Regions from separate parts of the Homo sapiens genome. Here all the other regions are linked to region 1. The links are contacts of gene promoters, found by promoter capture Hi-C in blood cells and fetal thymus (Javierre and others, 2016). All regions are on one chromosome and are shown on one strand. The core of a region is centred on a gene start or on the middle of the fragment in contact, and the rest is flanking DNA. Distances in the headings are between cores, read along the strand shown. Region 1 holds the start of CASP3 (caspase 3). Region 2 has its middle 8.5 kb from the start of MYL12BP2. Region 3 has its middle 21 kb from the start of MIR4455. Region 4 holds the start of LINC02362 (long intergenic non-protein coding RNA 2362).

Evidence for each region. The method cuts DNA at HindIII sites, captures the fragments that hold promoters and counts their contacts. A CHiCAGO score of 5 or more calls a contact.
Region 2: a fragment that was not itself captured here is called in contact with the fragment with the promoter of CASP3 in region 1 in 2 of 17 cell types (naive B cells and neutrophils); the score reaches 6.0 in naive B cells.
Region 3: a fragment that was not itself captured here is called in contact with the fragment with the promoter of CASP3 in region 1 in 1 of 17 cell types (neutrophils); the score reaches 5.6 in neutrophils.
Region 4: a fragment that was not itself captured here is called in contact with the fragment with the promoter of CASP3 in region 1 in 1 of 17 cell types (activated CD4 T cells); the score reaches 5.1 in activated CD4 T cells.

What each region holds. Positions count from the first base shown.
Region 1 is chr4:184,647,738-184,651,282 of GRCh38, reverse strand. CASP3 (caspase 3) reads left to right here and starts at 1,836. Exons shown (of 8, transcript NM_004346.4): 1 at 1,836-1,888; 2 at 2,652-2,818. PRIMPOL (primase and DNA directed polymerase) reads right to left here and starts at 1,545. Exons shown (of 14, transcript NM_152683.4): 1 at 1,375-1,545. RefSeq lists silencers at 1,529-2,108, 2,119-2,328. The HindIII fragment of the contact is 9,772 bases long and covers 1-3,545 here.
Region 2 is chr4:184,321,012-184,324,556 of GRCh38, reverse strand. No RefSeq gene overlaps it. Among named protein-coding and RNA genes, the nearest start is that of MYL12BP2, 8.5 kb to the right of the region's middle. The HindIII fragment of the contact is 3,269 bases long and covers 349-3,545 here.
Region 3 is chr4:184,957,290-184,960,834 of GRCh38, reverse strand. No RefSeq gene overlaps it. Among named protein-coding and RNA genes, the nearest start is that of MIR4455, 21 kb to the right of the region's middle. RefSeq lists a silencer at 3,142-3,305. The HindIII fragment of the contact is 2,716 bases long and covers 523-3,238 here.
Region 4 is chr4:184,378,831-184,382,375 of GRCh38, reverse strand. It overlaps LINC02362 (long intergenic non-protein coding RNA 2362), which reads left to right and starts at 70. Exons shown (of 6, transcript NR_125934.1): 1 at 70-242. The HindIII fragment of the contact is 210 bases long and covers 1,146-1,355 here.

The DNA of each region.
Region 1 (3,545 bases), core at 587-3,086:
GTCTTGCTCTGTTGCCCAGGCTAGAGTGCAGTGGCGCAATCTCAGCTCACTGCAACCTCTGCCTCCCGGGTTCAAGCGATTCTCCTGCCTCAGCCTCTCAAGTAGCTGGGATTACAGGTGCCCACCACTGCACCCGGCTAATTTTTTTTGTATTTTTAGTAAAGACAGGGTTTCACCATCTTGACCAGGCTGGTCTCGAACTCCTGACCTCGTGATCCACCTGCCTCGGCCTCCCAAAGTCCTGGGATTACAGGCATGAGCCACCGCGCCGGGACTTAACCTCTTTAAACTCGGCCTTAACCTCTTTAAACCTTATCCTCTTTAAATTGGAATTCCTATCCCGAGGGATTGTTGAAAGGCTGAAACAAACAAATGTATTATGAAAATGTAAAAGCATGCAATAAACTCAGCAAGGGGTAACCATATATAAAACTAAGTATATTTCTGTGCAGAATATAGTCCCTATAGTCGAATAGGCGCAAGTGTTAGAAACAGGCTCTGCCATGGGGTCCCTGAATCTGACTTCTGAATGTCAAGAACTTTTTGAAATCTGATGCAGAATGTCGTGCTCACATGTGTTGGTGAATTCTTCTGCGAAAATGATTCACAGTTTGCTTCAGGGTCTGAAATGAGTTCACGACCCAAAATAGGAAGGGGATCGGTAGGGCAGTGTATATAGCACACCATTGACGTAACCATTAATAACTCCATCTTAGGAGAAGACCCCATTTTTACATTTCATAAGGCATTTGCCAACAAGCATACTATACTTTAATAAACAAATAAAAAAATAGTCCGCATCCAGCCAGGTAAGGACACAAACAAGCACTCTCTTCCATTACCAGTTCTCACCACAGGACTCTGTGACTATAAAAGATGGGGCCTTCGGCAGCTCCCAACAGCCGGCTTAATTGACGCCGTCTTTGCAGAAGGACCTCTCGGCCCAAACCAGGCTTCTTTTCCTCTTCTTCACTCCCTCTGGATTGGTTCGTTAATCTCTTTGCCCCATCTCTTTTTCCTCATGATGTTAAATGCTACTTTGTTGTGGGATGCTTAACTTGTAACATTTATATGTGGATTAAGTACACTACTATGATGCGTGAGCGGCTTGAGCCTGTGTGTCAGGCTCTGACTACCCAGTGACCAGCAAGTGCTGAGAACTGCCTCCTTGGGAACTCCACGCAGCTCGTGGCTTTTGTGATCGAAAGAGCGTCCACAGCAGCCTGACATGGTGGAAAACACAGCATGCGTGGACCTGGTTATTTCTAGCCTGGCACCCTGATGACAGGAGGTTAAGGCTTTTGATTTAGGGAGAGAGACCTGAGGGTAACCCAAAGAAAGGCCTCAGGTCATCGCAGAGGAGACAGAAATTACCGGTGGGCGTCCCGGCCTGCTCCTCTTCTTCCCAGAGCTCAAACTGGGCAGCAGGCCTGGCTTTGTCTCCCTTCTAGGTACCCGTTGGGCCTGGCGCGGTTTCCAAGTCTCCCTCAATTTCCCTCCAGAATCCCGCGCTGGGAGCGGAAGCCCGCGGACTCTCAGGAAGACCTAGATTTCAAATCCGGGGCGGGGGAGCCGGGCCGAGCCTCAGGGCGGGACCAAAGCGGGAGGACTGGCGCGGGACGCGAGGGCGGGACCAGGGCGTGAGGACGCGGGGCGCGGGGGCGGGGCGCGCTGCGGTGGGCGGGCGCCTCCTGGGGCCCAGCCTGGGGCTGGGTTCTCGGGCGGGCGGGAGCTAGGGGACGGGCCGCAGCGGAGGCGGCGCGAGGGGCCGACAGGGGCGGGCGGGAGGCGGGGCTGGCGCTGGAGCACATCTCCCGGCGGCGGGCCGCGGAAGCAGTGCAGACGCGGCTCCTAGCGGATGGGTGCTATTGTGAGGCGGTTGTAGAAGGTATGAGGAGGCTGTGCGGTGACTGCCGCCCTCGCTCCGGGCCGTCAGCCCTGCCCCCGCTCCCTGCGTTCTCCCAGGCCCTGCGCCCGCCCGGGTACCTGCCCGGTCTGGAAGGCGGAGTGTTTGTTTTGCCACCTCGCCCGGGCGGGGGCGAGCAGTGAAGCCCGCGGAGCGAGAGACTTGGCCCGGAGGCGGGAGCCTGGGCCGGGGCCGGGGAAGCCAGGCAGCGGGTTAAGGCTTTTGATTTAGGGAGAGGGACCTGGGGGTAACCTAAGGAAAGGCCTCAGGTCATCGGAGGGGAGACCTGGCCCGGGGGCGGGAGGCTGGGCTGGGACCGGGGAGGCCGGGCAGCGCGAGGCCGGGCCGGGGAGGCCAGGCAGCGGGAGGCCTGGCCAGGGGAACCGAGCCCGGGGCCGGGAGGTCGGGCACGGGGCACCGAGCTCCGAGGGCGGGAGACCTGGCGGCCGGCCGAGTGCCGGAAGGCCGGGTCAGGCGGCGGAAGGCAGCGGCAAGCTGGGAAACGGACGGCGCTACCGCCGGCGGAGGAGTGGCCCCGGGAAGCGGTGCTGCGAGGGCTGGGGCGGCCGGGTGCTGACTGTGAGATACTCGCCCTGGGGGCTGATCCTTCCAATTTTGGACGAGGCTTCCGTCTCTGCTGCCTTCCATGCCTGGGGCCTGGATTATCCCGGGTTGACAATGTGGTTTAGCTCTTCCAGAGAGATAGTTGCAGGGTTTAAACTCCAATTCCTTTTCGGCCCTGCAGAGTTTCGTGAGTGCTCGCAGCTCATACCTGTGGCTGTGTATCCGTGGCCACAGCTGGTTGGCGTCGCCTTGAAATCCCAGGCCGTGAGGAGTTAGCGAGCCCTGCTCACACTCGGCGCTCTGGTTTTCGGTGGGTGTGCCCTGCACCTGCCTCTTCCCCCATTCTCAGTAAGTGGCACCCAAGCAGGAAACCGGAAAACATCGTTCGCAGCCCCCTCTCGCCCACCCACTTCTTTTCCTGCTTAGTCGCCAAGCCTTGTCGACCTTGTAAATGTCTGCCAGATCTGTCCGCGTCTCTCTATCTCTGATTTCAGCCGTCTGACCACAGCAGCCTCTTCCCTGGTCTCTCCACTTCCAGACCCGCCTGCTCCTTTGCAGTCCACTTTTTACAGCACAGGCAGAGGGATCTTTATGAAATGAAAGTCTAGAAAGCTCGTCCTTTGCCCTTAGGTTAAACCCAGCACTTAATATGGCTAACAAACCCCTGCGTGTGTTGGGTCCTGAGTGCCCCCACCCCTCCTTATCTTTAGCACCGGTTCGATTTCTGCACGGCAATGCTGACCTTCATACCTAGTGTCTGCCTGCAACACCTCTGCACTCCCTTTCTCCCGCCATCACATTTGATTAGAAGAGCTGCTACTTAAATTTCTGTTTTCATTAAACAGTTTAAGGTTAAATCTTCCTATGCTGTGTTCTTTCTGCAGCCAGCATTCCCTAAGAGAGATGTGTCATATCCTTTGCAGTTGCTTGTTTACTATCTTCCCTGCTAGATTTGCAAGCAAACTCCAGGAGGGACGGACTTGGTTTATCTTGGTATCCTTAGTGTCTTGCCCCAAATGCGGGGCCTGGCATAACACAGTGAATGCCCATCCATTGTATTTTTACTTTTATGCCC
Region 2 (3,545 bases), core at 734-3,233, 330 kb after region 1:
GATCCTGTCTCTGGAGCCAGCTTTAGGGACCTCTTGGTTAGTTCTGGAAGACAATCTAATACAAGGAAGTGGAAGAGAAGAGAAGAGAGATTAGGTTTTTATATTTAAGCAAAGCCACTTTATTCTTACTTTCTGAAATGAGAGAAAAGGGAAATGTAGATAGATTGATCATGGGCCAGTACATTGATAGCATGTATAATTAAGTTTTCCTAAAGTTGCAGTTATATTTTAGCCTGCTTTAGATGGCAGTTTTGCTTTCAAGATATTTAATTTTTTTTTATTAAAACCAAAAGCAAAGGCTTTAAGAAAACTAATTTCCCAGAATGTGTTTCTGTGATTCTGGAAGCTTTTCCTGGTGGGGCTGAGATCGGAAGCAGAGCCGTCAGGCCAGCAGAATGGGGGGGAGGGGCCGTGGAGATGGAGGAGATGGGCTTGTGAGTGCTCTGGGATGGAAAAGCCGTGGGAACACAGTCTAGTCTGTCCTTTCAGCCAAAGACCCCCAGGCGGAACTCTATGGCTCAAGGTGTTCCAAGTCGTCATTTATTTTCATATTTGTACTTTTTATTGTGATGAAATAGACATAAAATTTGCCATTTGAACCACTTTTAGGAGGCCGGTACACTGGCATTGATTACATTCACAATGCTGTGCAACCATTGCCACCATCTATTTCCAAAAATGTTTTCATTATTTTCATCATCCCAAACAGAAGCTCCATATCCAGTAAACAGCAGCTCTCTCTCCCCTCAGTCCCTGGTAACGTCTCTTCAACCTTCTGCCTCTATGAAGTTGCCAATTCTAGGTTCCTTGTATGAGCAGAATCATTCAGTGTTTCTTTTTTGGGTCTGGCTTCTTTCGCTTAGCAGCATGTTTCCAATCAATGTTCATCCATGTCGTAGCCTGTGTCAGAACTTCATTCCTTTTTTTGCTTGTTTGTTTTTTGTTTTTTGAGATGGAGTCTTGCTCTGTCACCAAGCTGGAGTGCAGTGATGCTATCTCGGCTCACTGCAACCTCGGCCTCCTGGGTTCAAGCGATTCTCCTGCCTCAGCCTCCTGAGTAGCTGGGACTACAGGTGCGTGCCACCACGCCCAGCTAAATTTTGTATTTTTAGTAGAGGTGGGGTTTCACCATGTTGGCCAGGATAGTCTCAATCTCTTGACCTCAGGATCCTCCCACCTCGGGCTCCCAAAGTGCTGGGATTACAGGTGTGAGCCACTGCGCCCAGCCCTTCATTCCTTTTTATGGCTGAATAATATCCCATTGTAGGGATACATTTGTTTATGCATTTCTTTCTTTCTTTTTTTTTTTTTTTGGTTAGACAGAGTCTCGCTCTATTGCCCAGGCTGGAGTGCAGTGGCATGATCTCAGCTCACTGCAACCTCCACCTCCCGGGTTCAAGCGATTCTCTTGCCTCAGCCTCCCAAGTAGCTGGGATTACAGGCACCTACCACCACACCTGGCTAATTTTTGTGTTTTTAGTAGAGACGGGGTTTCACCATGTTGGCCAGGCTGGTCTTGAACTCCTGACCTTGTGACTCACCTGTCTTGGCCTCCCAAAGTGCTGGGATTACAGGCATGAGCTGCCATGACTGGCCTGCATTTATTTTTTGATCCGACATTTTATTTGAGAAAATTGTCAGTGATTTATTTTAAAAAGAGCATTTTTTTTTTCCTGATGGGTGTTAAAGTGGATATTCCTTTCTGTTGAATAGGATGTGGTATACAGGTATTAGTGTGAGGCTGATGACTAAGAGCATGTGGCATTTCTGTGAGTGGCACAAGAGCCTAATAAAAATCAGTATCTACCCTGAAATTCTAAGTGAATTTACCTTGTGCCCAGGGCTTTAACTTTTCCCTAGATTCTGGAAAAGCATACTGTCCATGGCCTAAAGTTTGTGGGATGAGAAAGTTTTCACCTGGTGAAATGTTTGTAGGTGATTACATTTTGGGGGCATTGAATTTTTTTAAAATAAGAAATCTAAAATGTGATACATACACACCATGGAGCACTATACAGCCATAAAAAAGAAAGAGATTATGTCCTTTGCAGCAACATGGATGAAGCTGGAGACCATTATCCTACGTGAACCAACTAACACAGAAACAAAACCAGACACCACATATTCTCCCTTATAAGTGGGAGATAAACATTGAGTACACAAGGACTCAAAGAAGAGAACAGCAGACACCAGGGCCTTCTGGAGGGTGGAGGGAGAGAGGAGGGTGAGGATCGAAAAACTACCTGTCAGGTACTATTCTTATGACCTGGGCTGTGGAATAATCTGTACACCAAACTCCCATGACACGTAAGTTACCTACATAACAAACCTGCATATGCACCCCTGAACCTAAAATAAAAGTTAAAAGAAAGAAAAAAATCTAAAAATCTTGTTGACATATTAAATATTATGTGTGTGTGTGTGTGTGTGTGTATATATATATATATATATATATATAATTTTTTTTTAGACGCTGTCTCGCTCTGTCACCAGGCTGGAGTGCAATGGCATGATCTCGGCTCACTGCAACCTCCGCCTCTCGGGTTCAAATGATTCTCCTGCCTCAGCCTCCCAAGTAGCTGGGGCTACAGGTGTGCACCACCACGCCCAGCTAATTTTTGTATTTTTAGTAGTGACAGGGTTTCACCATATTGGCCAGGATGGTCTTGGTCTCTTGACCTTGTGATCCACCCACCTCGGCTTCCCAAAGTGCTGGGATTACAGGCATGAGCCACCGCACCTGGCCAAATGTTATACTTTTTAAAAAAAATAAAAACAAACAAACAAAAAACTAAAATCTACACAAATGATTACTTACTCCTTAAAAATCAGGTAGGACAGCCAGGTGCGGTGGCTCATGCCTGCAGTCCCAGCACTTTGGGAGGCCATGGTGGGTGTCTCACCTGAGGTCAGGAGTTTGAGACCAGCCTAGCCAACGTGGCAAAACCCTGTATCTTCTAAAAATACAAAAATTAGCCAAGTGTGGTGGCAGATGCCTGTAATCCCAGCTGACTATGGGAGGCTGAGGCAGGAGAATCGCTTGAACCTTGGAGGTGGAGGTTGTAGTGAGCTGAGATAGTGCCACTGCACTCCAGTCTGGGCGACAGAGTGAGACTCTGTCTCAAAAAAAAAAAAAAACAAAAGATCAGGTAAGGCGACTTGAAGTTTTAAAACATTTATGCAGAGGACATATTACAGAAGAGAACATGTACTTTTCCAGTTGCAGAATGTTTTCATCTGATTTTCTGGAAGCCCCATGACATAGCAGAGTTCTTTTCTTGCTTATCCCCCTGGTTTTGTTCCATCTTTTGCTACAGCCCTTCTCAACCTACTTCATCATTATGCATTAATTAATCCATATGGTAAGTTAATTAATAATTATCACTGATAGATTAATAAGTATATTAAAAAGAATTATTTCATAATAAAATAAACAATTCATGGTATTCATTAATAATTTAACAATTATGCTACAGGAAATTATTCAGTAATTAATACAAATTAAAATGGATTTCTTTTTGTCATATTTATTCATGATTCTCCAA
Region 3 (3,545 bases), core at 631-3,130, 310 kb before region 1:
AGAAAGGCTTCTTTTGTTTTGAGAAAATGAACCAGGCGGGGTCTTTGGGAGCCATGAACTCGAGGCATGTTCATTATTCTCCTGGGGCCCCCTGCACGCCCTGAGTGCATTTGAGAGTGCCCGCTGAACTGCACCCTGCAGAGTTCGGAGAAATATTTTGTTCTTCTCCCCACATGCAGACTTGGCCTGAGCAGGAAACTGTTGTTGCTCTTGGGAAATGTTTGTGTGCCTTTTGGTCTAAGCTTGCTCACAGGAGGCCTGCAGCCAATGCTGGACTCTGCCCCCAGATCTGGCCTCTATCTCGCCTCACACTGGAGAGAGATGGTGACAAGAACAGTCCAGATGCAGCATGGTGCAACCTGGACTGATTTGCTAAAATTGTGATAAAATGTGCATAAGATAAAAGTCCCCATTGTATTCATTTTTAAGTGTGCAGTTCTGTGGCCTGATACACACTCACATTTTTGTACAGCCATCACCGTGCCCTAGCTCCAAAACTTTTTCATCCAACCAACTGAAGCTTCCTCTGTACCTGCTAAACCCTAATTCCCCCTCCCCTTCCCGCCAGGCCCTGACAACCACCAATCTATGTCTTGTCTCTATGAATGTGACTACTCCATGTACCTCCTAGAATTGGAGCTGACAGCGTTTGTCCTCCTGGACGGATTCCTTTTTCTTTTTGTAGAAACAGGGTCTTCCTACGTTGCCCAGGCGGGTCTCGAATTACTGGCTCCAATGATCCTCCCGCCTTGGCCTACCAAAGTGCTGGGATGACAGGCGCGAGCCACTGCACCTGGCCTGGACGGATTCTTATTGGCATCTGAGACGGAATGGACTGGGCTTTGTGAAATTCATCATCAGTTACTCTATTGACTGGCACCGGCCGGCAGAGACCAGAACCTGTGGGTCGGAGTGGCTGTTTCCTTCTGAACAAATAGATGCTTCCACTGTTAGTCATCCTGAAAAGAGTTTAATCCCAGAGTACAAAAAGAAGTGGACTGAGACTGGGGAAAGTAAGGCTTTCCTCTCTGCAGCTTGCTTGGCCTTCATTCCAAGGTGTGGAGCTACCTGGGGATTCTTCCTGGTGGGGTGTGGGTGGTGGCGCCTGTGTCCATGGAGGGAAGCCTGCTGCGGGCAGTACAGCAATTGTGAGGGCAGCCAAGCCCTTTTAGTGCAGGCATCTCTTACGCTCTGTGTGGTCCTCCAGCTAGCCCCAAGGCTCAGCACCACGTGCTTACATCAGCTCATCATCTCAGCCAAGCTGCAGGGATGGGAGAGGTGGATGTCCTGGCCACCAGGCTGCAGGTGGGAGGCAGTGGGGGGCATCAGCTGGGCCCCACCGGGCAGACCTGTCATGAAGGTACAGAGGCCGGAGACAACACAGATAAAAAAGTGAAGCCAAGCGAGATGTCCCAGAGTACCGTGGGCAGCGTGCTGGAGCATTCACGGAAGTTCCAGCAAGCAGCCTGGTGTGAGCTCACGACATCATCACTTCCATCTGAAAAGAGAAGGATAATTTACTTTTTAGACACAGGCTTGTGTCTAAAGAGGCCAGAGACACTGAGTTAAACACATCTGACTTAATATCATAATCTTTCAAATTATTTTCCATGAACTAAAGTGATGCTCAAGGAAGACCATCCCTGCAACCCGCCTCTACTCACCGCTGCCCCAGCACCCTGGCTGGAGACACAGAGCCCTGGGTTCATTCCAAAATGCAATGACAATTTGCTTTCACACTCAAAATATGGGAAAGACTTTAGAGTGTGCGGTAGTTCCCGTTTCTGTGTAGCTTACATCAGGGCGGGTATCTCCGGGGCCCTATTCAACGTCGTGCTCAAGCAACCCCAAGCAGTATTCAGGAGCCACTTGGAAGGAGCTGCAAGGTTTAAGCAGTTAATGAACATTCAAATCATATAGTAGAAAATAAAACCTCGAACACGGGGTTTTAGTATCTATGGAATCTGATGGGTTTGAAGATAAAGTGCCCACAGAGAAGCCACAGCTTCAAGATTCTTCGTGGTATAGTTATTCAGGGAGCTTGCCAATTGTGAGCTGCAAAATCATAACATTAATACTTAATAATAGGCTTATTCCTGTTACTCTTTATTATCCCAATCATGTTCCCAGCTATTATCTCCTTTCTCCCCTTATACCATCCCTGGGGAGAGGCTGACATAAATTATTATCCCTCCTTTAAGGGGGAAGGCATTAAAGCACAGAGAGATTAAATGACATGCCTGAGGCTCTAAAATTAGTGTGCAGCACAGGCGAGGTGAGAGCTTGTGTGTCTGTTTCCCCCAGTGTTCCTCTGCTTCTCTGGCTAGCTCTGGGTATCCAACCTCTCTAGGTCCAAACATCTCAGCCACCCTCATAAATAGCCATGAAGTCTTGGGAAAGCCTGCTGCTCTGCACCCGGGCCTGTTTCCACCTCACATTAACATGCCTTTAGAGCAATGTCTAGGAGCCACCTCTTCTCAGAGGCTTCCCTACCCACCTCCTGCTGAGATGGTCGCCACCTCTGGCAACCTTCAGCCACACCTGGAATTAGCCCCACACCAACAGCGCGGGGCATGTAATTACACGCTTTCTAGAATTATGTGCTCATGGCTTGCCAACTAAAGGGTGAGCTTTCTGAGGGTTGGCCTCCAGCTGCATCCCATGCGTCTTCTTTGGTGTCCTTCAAGGCCTCTGGAAGCAAGTTGGGCAGCACGGGGGCCTAATAAACTTGCTCAGTGATGTGTTGGGTGCTGTAGGACATGAGTGATGGGCAAGATGGATTCTCTGTGAAAGCTCTGCTGCTTGTTCCAGTCCCTCTCCGTCCTCCGCTCCATTTCATTCCGCACACATAGCTATCACTACCACTGTGCTATGCATCTGTCTGTCTGCACATTTACGGCTGTCTCTCCCACTGCAGTGTCAGCTCCAGGGGAGCAAGGCCCTTCTTGCTTCTCCAGATCCTCACACACATAGCAGCCGCTTGTTCCATCGGGATGTGTATCCCTCCAAGTCTCATGATGTGATCCCCAGTGTTGGAGGTGGGGCCTAGTGGGAGGTGTTTGCGTCATAGGGGCTGATCTCTCTTGAATGGCTTGGTGCTATCCTGGCAAGAGCGAGTGAATTCGTGTGAGATCTAGTTGTTTAAAGAGTGCGGCACCTCCAGCTTCTCTCTCACTCTGCTTTCACCATAGGATGCACCTGCTCCCCCTTCCCCTTCTCCCTCAATTGCTTGTAAGCTTCCTCAGGCCCTCAAGTGGCACAGATGTCGGTGCCATGCTTCCTGTATGGCCTGTAGAATCGTGAGCCAATTCAAACTTTTTTCTTTACAAATTGCCTAGCCGCAGGTGTTCCTTTATAGCAGGGGTCTCCAACACCCAGAACCAGGAGGTTAGGAACCAGGCTGCAGAGCAGGAGGTGAGCAGCAGGCAAGCGAGTGAAGCCTCCTCTGTATTCACAGCCACTCCCCATCACTCACATACCGCTTGAGCTCTGCCTTCTGTCAGATCAGCGGCAGCATTAGATTCTCAAAGAAGAGTGAACCCTTT
Region 4 (3,545 bases), core at 1-2,500, 270 kb after region 1:
TGGCTTCTGCCTCCATTCTGACTTCCAAATCTCTTGCAAATGCATATAATTGGTTGAACCTAATTCACAGTTAGAACCCCAGCTGCAAGTGAGACTGGAAAAATGGCTCTCAGAGTTCCCGCCTCTGCAGTAGAGGAAGACACTCCAGAAGGAGTTGAGAATGGGTGCTGAGTGCCTCTTCAGGATGTCTGTCACACCTCAGGAAACCTGCCAGGAATACCAAAGGGAGTGAAAAATCCAAGGTAAGAATATCCAGAGAATGAAATCTGCATCCCATACCTTCCAGAGTAGTTGGGAAAGCAACATATGTAGTGGGAAGAGAATACGTTTTTTGAAATCAGATAAACCTGGGTTCAGTCTGCTCTTATTTGCTGACGACTTTGGGCACATCTCTTTGTATCTATGAGAAAAAGTTTCTCAACATATAAAATGGGGGTATTGACACCTTACTTGCAAGGTGAGAATTAGATAAGATAATGTAAAGTATGAAGTACATTGCAAGCACTCAGTTATATCAGCCACACCATCTGCATATAAAATAGCTAAGATCCATATTTTGGAGCACTGATTCCAAAGTACCCATCTTCTCCCAGACTTCCATGAATTCAAGATTTGACCACTGAGGCTGTCAGAGCTCAGACATGTGACCCCAGTTTCTATATAGCTAAAATTAGTCTTTCCTTCTCTGAGCTATCCCTTTTTTGAGCAAGCCTCATTCTGTTGTCAAGTGGCATAAAAGGAGCTGAGAATTTATTCCTTTCTGGTAGAAGTTGAAGGGGATATAAACCTGCTGGCAGTTAATTCAATTTGATTTTTGTTTTTTAAGACAGGGTCTTGTTCTGTCACCCAGGCTGGAGTGCAGGCTCACTGCAACCTCTGCCTCCTGGGCTCAAGCCATCCTCCCACCTCAGCCTCCTGAGTAGTAGCTGGGAATACAGGTGCATGCCACCATGCCCAGCTAATTTTTTTGTATGTTTTTTGTAGAGACAGAGTTTCACCATGTTGCCCAGGCTTATCTCAAACTCCCGAGCTCAAGTGATCCACCCGCCTCAGCCTCACAAAGTGCTGGGATTATAGGTGTGAGCCACCGTGGCTGGCCAATTTTGTTTTTTAAACAACATAGATTCAAACAAACTTTTTAAGCTTTATAAAGCCACCCAGTAGAATTACATTAACTTTTGATTATTGAAGTGATTCTAATTTGCTTCATTCTGGCCGTTGATACAGTTTCCCTTGTGGACCAGTTTGCATTATAATTCCCACTAGATCCTGGGATTCATGACATTTTGACTCAGCAATTTTGAAATTGGGAATATTTCAACATATTCATAAAACAGAGCCACAAACGTTAAGCTTTTGTGCTTTCTTGGTATCTTTCTACCCTATGCTAGAATCTCACACTCAGGACAGGATGAGGGAGCTTACATGGCAGGTGCTTTGTCAGAACCTAACCTGTGCCAGGCATGAGGGCAGGGCCAGGCCTTCTGTGTTATGTTTGCATAAACAGATTAACGTAGGGGCTGAGGAGGCTCCTGGGAAAAGAGCTAGAAGAGCTTGCAGAGAAGGGATCCCAGGAAAAGAATCTAGCCTGAGGATGGGGCCAATTAGGCTCTGAAGGTGGTAGGAGGTGTTCTTGGTACAGTGTCTTGACGGCTGCCTGAACCCGTGAAGACACCTGCCTGCTTCAAGGGGTGTGTGTACCTTGAAGAGAGAATGGCTGGGAGTGTAAAACTGCCACTTCAGGTCCCAGTCACCCCTTGTATTAGCCCGTTTTCATACTACTATAAAGAAATACCCAAGACTGGGTAATTTATAAAGGAAAGAGGTTTAATTGACTCATAGTTCCACATGGCTGGGGAGGCCTCAGGAAACTTACAATCATGGCAAAAGAGGAAGCAGGCATGTCTTACATGGCGGCAGGTGAGAGAAACCCGTGAAGGCAGAACTGTCAAACACTTACAAAACCATTAGATCTTGTGAGAACTCACTCATTATCTCGAGAACAACATGCAGAAACCACCCCGATGATCTAATCACCTCCCACCAGGTCCCTTCCTCAACAGTGGGGATTATGGGGATTACAATATGAGATGAGATTTGGGTGGAGACACAGAGCCAAACCATATCACCTATATTAAGCAGAGTTTTCCCTAGCTATTTCTTAGTGGCCTGAGCCTGGGTGACAGATCAAGTAGAAGATGAGAACTTCCCCAGTAATGACAGAGGCATATGGCCCGGTAAAAGTTCCTAGACATTCTGGAATAGGACTGCATCAGTAGATGCTATGGTCTGAATGTTTATGTCCCCTCGAAATTCATATATTGAAACACAATCTCCAATGCAATAGTATTAAGAGGTGGGGACTTTGAGAGATGATTAGGTCATGAGGACTCCGCCCTTATGAATGGGTTGATGCTCTTATTAAAAAGGCCTAAGGACGCTTGTTTGCCCCTTTCACCATGTGAGGACAGATAGAAGGTGCCATTTATGAGAAACAGGTCCTCCCCAGACACTGAATTTGCTTATGCCTTCATCTTGGACTTCCCAGCCACCAGAACTGTGAGAAATAAATTTCTATTGTTTATAAATTACCAAGTCTGAGGTATTTTGTTATAGCATCCCAAAGTGACTAAGACAGTAGGGAAAGCAGAAGCCTTAGCTAAGGAATGAAAATTGCCTAAAGGCAGAAAGGCAGTAGGTAGGCCGTTGGCCCAAGCAGTGGCAGCTCCAGGGCTAGGGATGGCAGAAGTGTACTTAGTGGATTGGCACACAAAAGCAGAGAACCCTGGATACTAAAGGTGGGAGGGACCTCAAAAATGGTAGTGGAGGCTGGGCACAGTGGCTCACACCTGTAATCCCAGCACTTTGAGAGGCCAAGGTGGGCAGATCACCTGAGGTCAGCAGTTTGAGACCAGCCTGGTCAACATGGTGAAACCCCGTCTCTACTAAAAATACAAAAATTAGCCGGGCATGCTGGCAGGTTCCTGCAATCCCAGCTACTTGGGAGGCTGAGGCAGAAGACTCACTTGAACCCAGCAGGCAAATGTTGCAGTGAGCCGAGATTGCGCCATTGCACTCCAGCCTGGGCAATAGAGTGAGACTCCATCTCAAAAGAAAAAAAAAAGGTAGCAACAGGGGGTGCTGCTATTGAATTCCTGAGGTTTCATAGGCTGGGGTCTCAAGGTTAGGACTTGAATGTTTAGGACAGCTCATGTAGTAGTAATATGACATCATGTGTACCTACAGGTTGGGAAGCCCTGGGACATTGAAGTTACAACTGGACGATAAAAACAGAGTTTTTTCCTTGTGACGTGACCACTGTGATGTAAAGCTGTATCTCCTTCATTTCATCAAGAAATTCTTAAAATTCTCCCCCAACGTGCTTTCATCTTTCCCTTCATTGCCAACTCTGTAAGAAGTACCACGCCTTTTCTTTGAATCTGATTCTCCTCCAAGAAGCAATGCTTCTCTGAGGCTTTCACCTTTGCTCACATCAAAGCCCCCACACTGAATAAATACCATCCTTACATGCCCTTCCAGAGACT